Regions from separate parts of the Homo sapiens genome. Here regions 2 and 3 are each linked to region 1. The links are contacts of gene promoters, found by promoter capture Hi-C in blood cells and fetal thymus (Javierre and others, 2016). All regions are on one chromosome and are shown on one strand. Each heading gives the region's core, a stretch centred on a gene start or on the middle of the fragment in contact. The rest is flanking DNA. Distances are from core to core; before and after follow the strand shown. Region 1 holds the start of DYNC1H1 (dynein cytoplasmic 1 heavy chain 1). Region 2 overlaps CINP (cyclin dependent kinase 2 interacting protein). Region 3 overlaps LINC02320 (long intergenic non-protein coding RNA 2320).

Region 1 (2,592 bases), core at 29-2,528:
TAGGTGCCTAACCTGAATCTTTTTTTTTTTTTTTAATCTGTAAAATTAGACTCAAATATTACAGGGTTATCATTAACATCATCGAAGCATTAAACAAATATGAGGTATGATCAGTGAAAACAAGCAGTGGATGGGGAGCTGAGACACTGAGTCTAGTCTCAGGACTAAGATTAGCTGGTGACCTTGGGTGAAATCACTTAACCTGAGCCTCAGTTTCCTCAGGTGTAAAATCAGGATACACCCGTTCAGCAAGGATGCTGTGAGAGCATCCACCTACAACAGTGATGCTCGCAGGCCCGGGGCTGGCACCGTCGCTCTGTGGGCCTCGGCCTCTGGGTCCCCACAAGGCAGGGCTGGGACACCCGCCCGACCTCCTCCCGAACCAGAACCCCGGCTGCCCCCAGCTCCGCGGGTCTGCCCCCGACACATCCCTCCCGAAGGCCACTTGGCTTGGACACAAATCGAAACCGAAAAGCTCATGTGACACTGGAGGCAGGGATGCGGCCTCGCCCGCTCTCAGCCCAGGGAGACGCTGTCTCCACCCAACTCGGCCATCTTGAGAGGCCCGAGCAGACAAAGCGACCCCATTGTTTTGGGTGACGGCAGACGGGGACCCCTTTCCCCTCCCCGCGACCAGGAGCGGGGCGCCCTGGGGGCTCCGGGCCGGGCAGTGGGTGTGGCGAGGGCGAGCCCCGGGCGCCGCGCCGGCCTCTGCGGGGCGTCTGCGGCCCTGGGGACCCGGCCGGCGGGACGTCTGCGGCCGCCGGGCTCTGCCCATCCAGGGGTCATCTGCAGCTGCCGGGCTCCTCCCATCCCGGGGACATCTGCGACCCCGGAGGACCTGGCAGGCCCTGCATTCCGCGAGGCCTGGCTCTGGCGACCCTGCCCTCCGCGGCCCCGCACCTTTGAGCGTGGAGCGCTCCACCAGCACCGTGTGGACCTGCGGGTCCGAAAGGAACTTGCGCATCTGCTCCAGGGCGCTCTTCTCCTCCAGCGCCGCCTCCAGCGCGGCCGGCGCCTCGCCGCCGTCCTCCAGCAGCAGCGGCACCAGCTTGCGCAGGTGCTTCTGCAGCACCGACACGTCCGCCACATTCTGCACGGCCGACACTTCCAATCCGGCCGAGCCGTCCTCGCCGCCGCCGCCCCCGGGCTCCGACATGGTGTCGCGCTCGGGACCTTCCAGGAGCGATGAGAAGGCGGCCGCGACTCAGCGAGACAGCCAGCAAGAGACAGAAACGGCCGCCGGAAGCCGGACCGTCCGCTAGCCCACCGCAGACTGAGGAGAGCGGGAGCCGGCTCCGCCCTAAAGGCAGCCACTGCCAGGTGGCCCCGCCCCGCCCCGCCGGCCGCAGCCGCCGCAGCCACCCGCGCTCGCTCGCGGCCTTAGCGTCACGGCGCCGCGCGTGCGCGGGGGGCGGGCCCGGCGATGTCGCCGCGCGCCCTTCTGGGACTTGTAGTCTCGGCGCTGGTCGGGGCCCGCAGCCTCCGCACTGCGAGTCCTAGGAGATGGGGACTTGGCTCAACGTCCTGGCTCGGCGCCCGGGCTTGGCGAGGTTGGTCAGGGGCTGCGTCTGTCTTCTTCACTGCTGTGGACGCAGCGAATAGCACACAGCCAGAGAAACTTTATAGTGAATCAGTGATGTTATTGGCGAGAGCTAACGTTTAGTGAGCGCTTAGCCTGTGCCCGGCGTTGTTCTAAGCCCCTTAACCTCTCATTAAATGTTCTCTCATTGAATGAATGAATGACTACGTATCAGGTACCAAAATATAGGCACGACAGATGTGTTATTAGATATAGACCGGGAGATTGAGGATACTTTTCAGAGGGGGAGGAGATGAGGGGCGTGCTCAGAGAGTCCCATTGCCAGGCTGGAAACGGACAGCTGGGGAGGGGGCCTTCGGGGCAGTGTAAGGTTAAGCCAGGAATGACACCTTCACTGTACGTAAAGCCAAGCTGTGATGGGATCTGGTTCCTAATGACAAAAATCATTGTCCCCGAGGACGCTGTGAGGACCAAGAGGGAGACCTACTGAGAACAGCTACCTCCAGCAATGGCTCTCCTCCAGCCCCCTAGAGCTGGCACTGTCATTCTGTGGGCCTCAGTATCTGGGTCCGTACAAGGCAGGGGCTGGGTTGCCTGCCCACCAAGTTTCCCCCTAGTTCGGACCCACCACGACCTCCTCCCCTACACCATGACTACATAAGAGCCAGAATCCAGGCTGCCCAGCTGGGTGCGGTGGCTCACACCTGTAATCCTAGCATTTTGAGAGGCTGAGATGGGAGGATTGCTTGAGGCCAGAAGTTCCAAGACCAGCCTGGTCAACCTAGCGAGACCCTATATCTATGTGTATTTAAAAATTAAGAATTTTGTAAAATAATAAAAATAATAGAATCCAGGCTGCCCATCTTTGTAGTTTAGAGATGGTAGGTTCTTCTAAGGGGTAGTAATTGGCCTTTGAAAGTTCACATTCATAACTTCTTTCTTAAGTTGGGTGGAGAGAGGGAAGCCAATGGCGTTTTTTTTTTTTTTGGTTTTTTTGTTTTTTTTAAACATCAAAGTGCACTGTCAGAGTGCCGAGTCCTGATTGGTGG
Region 2 (2,592 bases), core at 39-2,538, 390 kb before region 1:
CTCATATCTCTCAGCCTTCACAGAATTGAAGAGAGTTAGGGTCCTGCTGTGGATTAGGCTTTGACTTAAGGGAATGCTGTGTCTGGTTTGATCTTCTATCCAGACCACTCAAACTTTCTCCATATCCACACTAAGGCTGTTTCACTCATCATTCACATGTTCACTGGAGTAGCACCTTTAATTTTCTTCAGTAACTTTTCCTTTGCCTTCACAACTTGGCCAACTGTTTGGCACAAGAGGCCTGGTTTTCAGCTTATCTTAGCTTTTTTTTTTTTTTTTTTGTAGAGATGGAGTCTCGCTCTGTCGCTCAGGCTGGAGTGCAATGGTGCAATCTTGGCTCACTGCAACCTCTGCCTCCCGGGTTCAAGCAATTCTCCTGCCTTTGCCTCCCAAGTAGCTGGGACTACAGGTGCACACCGCCACGCCCAGCTAATTTCTTTTGTATTTTAGTAGAGACGGAGTTTCACATGTTGCCCAGGCTGGTCTTGAATTCCTGAGCTCAGGCAATCTGCCCGCCTTGGCCTCCCAAAGTGCTAGGATTACAGGCGTGAGCCACCGCACCTGGCCCCTTATCTGAGCTTTTGACATGCCTTCCTCACTAAGCTTAATCATTTCTAGCTTTTAATTTTTTTGTTTCTTAAATTGGCCAAAGTATAGCTTTTGATTTAAAATGAGAGATATGCAACTCTTCCTTTCACTTGTACACTTAGAGGCCAATGTAGGGCTATTAATTGGGTTGATTTCAGTATCCTCCTATTTCAGGGAACAGGGAGGCCCAAGGAGATGGGGAGAAAGGGGAGCAGCCGGTCAGTGGAGCAGTCAGAACACACAACATCCATTCATTAAGCTTGCCGTTATATATGCACATGGTTCATGGCACCTCAAAACAATTAAACTAGCAATATCAAAGATTACCAATCACAGATCATAGACATAATAATGAAAAAGTTTGAAATATTGTAAGAATTACCAAAATATGATAGAGAGACATGAAGTAAGCACATGCTGTTGGCAAAATGGTGCTGATTGACTTGCTCTACATACAGAGGGTTGCCACAAACCTTCAATTTGTAAAAAATGCATTATCTATGAAACTGAATAAGGTGAAGCACAATAAAATGAGGCGTGCCTATATTCCTGGATTGTGAACTCTTTGAGGAAATGATCCATGTCTTATTCATCTTTGTACATCCAGCACCATGCCCTATGCCAAGGATGCCACACCGCTGAATGGTGTTTTTTTTTTTTTTGAGACAGTCTTGCTCTTTTGTGCAGGCTGAGTGCAGTGGTGCTATAATGGCTCACTGCAGCCTTGACTTCCTGGGCTTAAGTGATCCTCCCACCTGAGCCTCCTAAGTAGCTGGGACCACATACGTGTCCCACCATGCCCAGCTAATTTTTACTTTTAATTTTTGTGGAGATGAGGTCTCACTGTGTTGCCCAGGCTGGACTCAGACTCCTGGACTCAAGCAGTCCTCCCGCGTCCATCCCTCAAAGTGTTGGGATTACAGGCATGAGCCACCAAAACCGGCTGTCACATGGCTGAATTTAACTGACTTATTTTGGTGCAAAATTGAGTGACCAATGGACATATTCATTGCACATATAAATAATAACTGCATTTGTATCATAATGATATGAAAGAACAATGCTTATGCAAAATGTCCCACGTAACTATGTGGATATAGAGGTTTGTAGAATTTATTATAAGGAAATAAGGCAAGCTTAAAGAGTATATTTTGTACACATTATTTTCTATTTTGTTTAGGAATAAAGACAAGATAGAACTAGACAGCAGCAGCCCAGCCTCGAAGGAAAATGAAGAAAAGGTGTGTCTGGAATATAACGAGGAACTGGAGAAGCTGTGTGAGGAACTGCAGGCCACCTTGGATGGGTTGGTAAGACATAAAGACGCAGGCCACTTGTGGTCACTGTCACTGAATCCGATGGACGTATTTGGGGTTTGCTTGACCATTGGCCATCACTTACTCCTTCTCAGTCTCCTCTGATGTTCTCTTCCTCTGCCTGCTGCGTAAACCTTAATGTTCCCCAAGATGCTGTCTTAGACACTCACTCCTCCTGTGCGTCATCCGGGGAAATGTCACCCACTTTCAGGGCTCATCACATAGTAAATTTTTTTTTTTTTTCCATGATATGGAGTCTTGCTTTGTCGCCCAGGCTGGAGTGCAATGGCGTGATCTTGGCTCACCGCAAACTCCGCCTCCTGGGCTCAAGCGATTCTCCTGTCTCAGCCTCCAGAGTAGCTGGGACTACAGGCGTCCGCCACCATGCCTGGCTAATTTTTGCATTTTTAGTTGAGACAGGGTTTCACCATATTGGTCAGGCTGATCTCAAACTCCTGACCTCAGGTGATCCACCTGCTGGCCTCCCAAAGGGCTGGGATTACAGGCATGAGCTACCACGCCCAGCCACAGAGTAAATATTTTAGGCTTCCAGGGCCAGCCAGTCTCTATCTCAGCTACTCATCTCTGCCACATAGGACTAAACAGCCATAGATAATATATGCGTAAATGGATGTGGCTGCATTCCATGAAAACTTTATCTTTGTTTTTTGGATTTTCTTTTTTTTTT
Region 3 (2,592 bases), core at 32-2,531, 260 kb after region 1:
ATTCTACTCTCATCTCCATGAATTCCATGGTTTTAATTTTTAGCTCCCACAAATGAGTGAGAACATGTAAAGCTTGTCTTTCTGTGCCTGGCTTATTTTACTTAACATAATGTCCTCCATTTCCATCCATGTGGTTGCAAATGACAGAATCTCATTCTTTTCTATGGCTGAATAGTACTCCATTGTGCATATGTACCACATTTTATTTATTCTTTTGTTGATGGACACCTCGGTTCCAAATCTTGGATATTGTGAATAGTGCTGCAATGCATGAGAGTGCAGACATCTCTTTGATTTACTGATTTACTTTCTTTTAGGTATATCCCTATCAGTGGGATTGCTGGATCCTATGGTAGTTCTATTCTTAGTTTTCTTTTTGTTTTTTGATTATTTTTTTCTTTTTTGGGATGGAATCTCGTTCTGTTGCCCAGGGTGGAGTGCAGTGGTATGATCTTGGCTCACTGCAACCTCCACCTCCCAGGTTCAAGAGATTCTCCTGCCTCAGCCTCCTGAGTAGCTGGGATCACAGGCACGCACCGCCATGCCCGGCTATTTTTTGCATTTTTAGTAGAGACAGGGTTTCGTTGTGTTGGCCACGCTGGTCTCGAACTCCTGACCTCAGGTGATCCACCCGCCTTGGCCTCCCAAAGTGCTGGGATTGCAGGCAGGAGCCACTGCGCCCTGTCTATTTTTAGTTTTCTGAGGAAGCTCCATGTTGTTTTCCAAGTGGCTGCACTAATTTACATTCCCACCAACAGTGTACGAGGGTTCCCTTTCTCAACACTCCAGCATTCATTATTTCCTGCCTTTTAGATAAAAGCTATTTTAACTAGTATGAGATGATGTCTCATTGGAGTTTTGATTTGTGTTTCCCTGATGATCAGTGATGTTGAGCACCTGTTCACATAGCTGTTTGCCATTTGGATGTATTCTTTTGAGAAATGTCTATTCAATCTTTTGCCCATTTTAAATCAAATTGTTAGATTTTTTTTCCTATTGAATTGTTTGAGCTCCTTATATATTCTGGTTATTAATCCCTTGTCAGATGGATAGTTTGCAAATATTTTCTCTCATTCTGTGGATTGTCTCTTCACTTTGTTGCTAGTTTCCTTTGCTATGCAGAAGCTTTTTAATGATGTGATTTTTTAAAATGTGATTCCATTTGTCCATTTTTTGCTTCGGTTGCCTGTGCCTGTGAAGTATTACTCAAGAAATCTTTGTTCGTACCAATGTCCTGGAGAGTTTCTCCTATGTTTTCTTTTAGTAGTTTCATAGTTTCAGGTTTTAGATTTAAGTCTTTAATCCATTTTGATTTGATTTTTGTGTATGGTGAGAGAGCGATCTGGTTTCATTCTTCTGCATATGAACATCCAGTTTTCCCAGCACAATTTACTGACGAGACAATCCCTTTCTCAATACATGTTCTTGAAAGCTTTGTTGAAAATGAGTTCACTGTGGCTGTATGGATTTATTTCTGGGTTCTCTATTCTGTTCCATTGGTCTATGTGTCTGTTTTTATGTCAGTACCATCCTGTTTTTGTTACTTCATTGCTATAGCTCTGTAGTATAATTTAAAATCAGGTAATGGGATTCCTCCAGTTTTTTTTTTTTTTTTTTTTTCCTCATGATGGTTCTGACTGTTCTGGGCCTTTTGTGGTCCCATATAAATTTTAGGATTTTTTTTCTATTTCTGTGAGGAATTTCATTAGTACTTTAATAGAGATTGCACTGAATCTGTAGATTGCTTTGGGTAGCATGGACATTTTAATAATATTGATTCTTCTAATCCATGAACATGGAATATCTTTCCATTTTTTGGTGTCCTCTTCAATATCTTGCATAAAAGTTTTTATTGTAAAGATTTTTCACTTCCTTGGTTAAGTTTATTCCTAGGTATTTTGTTTAATTTGTAGCTATTGTAAATGGGATTACTTTCTTGATTTCTTTTTCAGATTGTTTGCTGTTAGCATATAAAAATGCTACTGATTTTTGTATGTTGATTTTGTATTCTGCAACTTTACTAAATTTGTTTATCAGTTCTAATAGCCTTTTGGTGGAGTCTTTCGTTTTTTTCAAGTATAAGATCATATTATCTGCAAATAAAAATAATTTCACTTCTTCCTTTCCATTTTGAATGCCTTTTATTTCTTTCTTTTGTCTGATTACTCTAGCTAGGACTTCCAGTACTATGTTGAATAACAGCGATGAAAGTGGGCATCCTTGTCTTGTTCCAGATCTTAGAGAAAAGGCTTTCATTTTTCCGCATTCACTATGATATTAGTATGATCAACTTATATATATATATATATATATATATATATATATATATATATATATATATACATATATATTATATATGAAAGTTGAAGGATGCAAAAACTGGGTATAGAAGGAACATATCTCAACATGAAAGCCATGCTTTTTATTGTGTTGAGGCATGTGCCTTTTATACCCAGTTTTTGAGTTTTTTTTTTCAAATCATGAAAGGATATGGAATTTTATCAAATGCTTTTTCAGCATCAGTTGAAATGATCATATGGTTTTTCTCCTTTATTATGCTGATATGATCTATCACATCGATTGACCTGTGTA

What was found. Contacts are between HindIII fragments. The CHiCAGO score rates a contact against its expected background, and 5 or more counts as called.
Region 2: a contact is called between a fragment that was not itself captured here and the fragment with the promoter of DYNC1H1 in region 1, in 1 of 17 cell types (activated CD4 T cells). The highest score is 5.3, in activated CD4 T cells.
Region 3: a contact is called between a fragment that was not itself captured here and the fragment with the promoter of DYNC1H1 in region 1, in 2 of 17 cell types (total CD8 T cells and naive CD8 T cells). The highest score is 5.7, in total CD8 T cells.

The regions. Positions count from the first base shown.
Region 1 is chr14:101,963,259-101,965,850 of GRCh38, reverse strand. DYNC1H1 (dynein cytoplasmic 1 heavy chain 1) reads right to left here and starts at 1,278. Exons shown (of 78, transcript NM_001376.5): 1 at 904-1,278. The coding sequence starts at 1,159. RefSeq lists silencers at 586-795, 1,286-1,445 and enhancers at 321-930, 931-1,541, 1,586-1,725. The HindIII fragment of the contact is 2,903 bases long and covers 1-2,592 here.
Region 2 is chr14:102,355,074-102,357,665 of GRCh38, reverse strand. CINP (cyclin dependent kinase 2 interacting protein) reads left to right here. Exons shown (of 5, transcript NM_032630.3): 3 at 1,769-1,898. Among named protein-coding and RNA genes, the nearest start is that of CINP, 6.5 kb to the left of the region's middle. The HindIII fragment of the contact is 877 bases long and covers 850-1,726 here.
Region 3 is chr14:101,698,672-101,701,263 of GRCh38, reverse strand. The region is part of intron 1 of LINC02320 (long intergenic non-protein coding RNA 2320); the gene reads left to right. Among named protein-coding and RNA genes, the nearest start is that of LINC00239, 30 kb to the left of the region's middle. The HindIII fragment of the contact is 307 bases long and covers 1,128-1,434 here.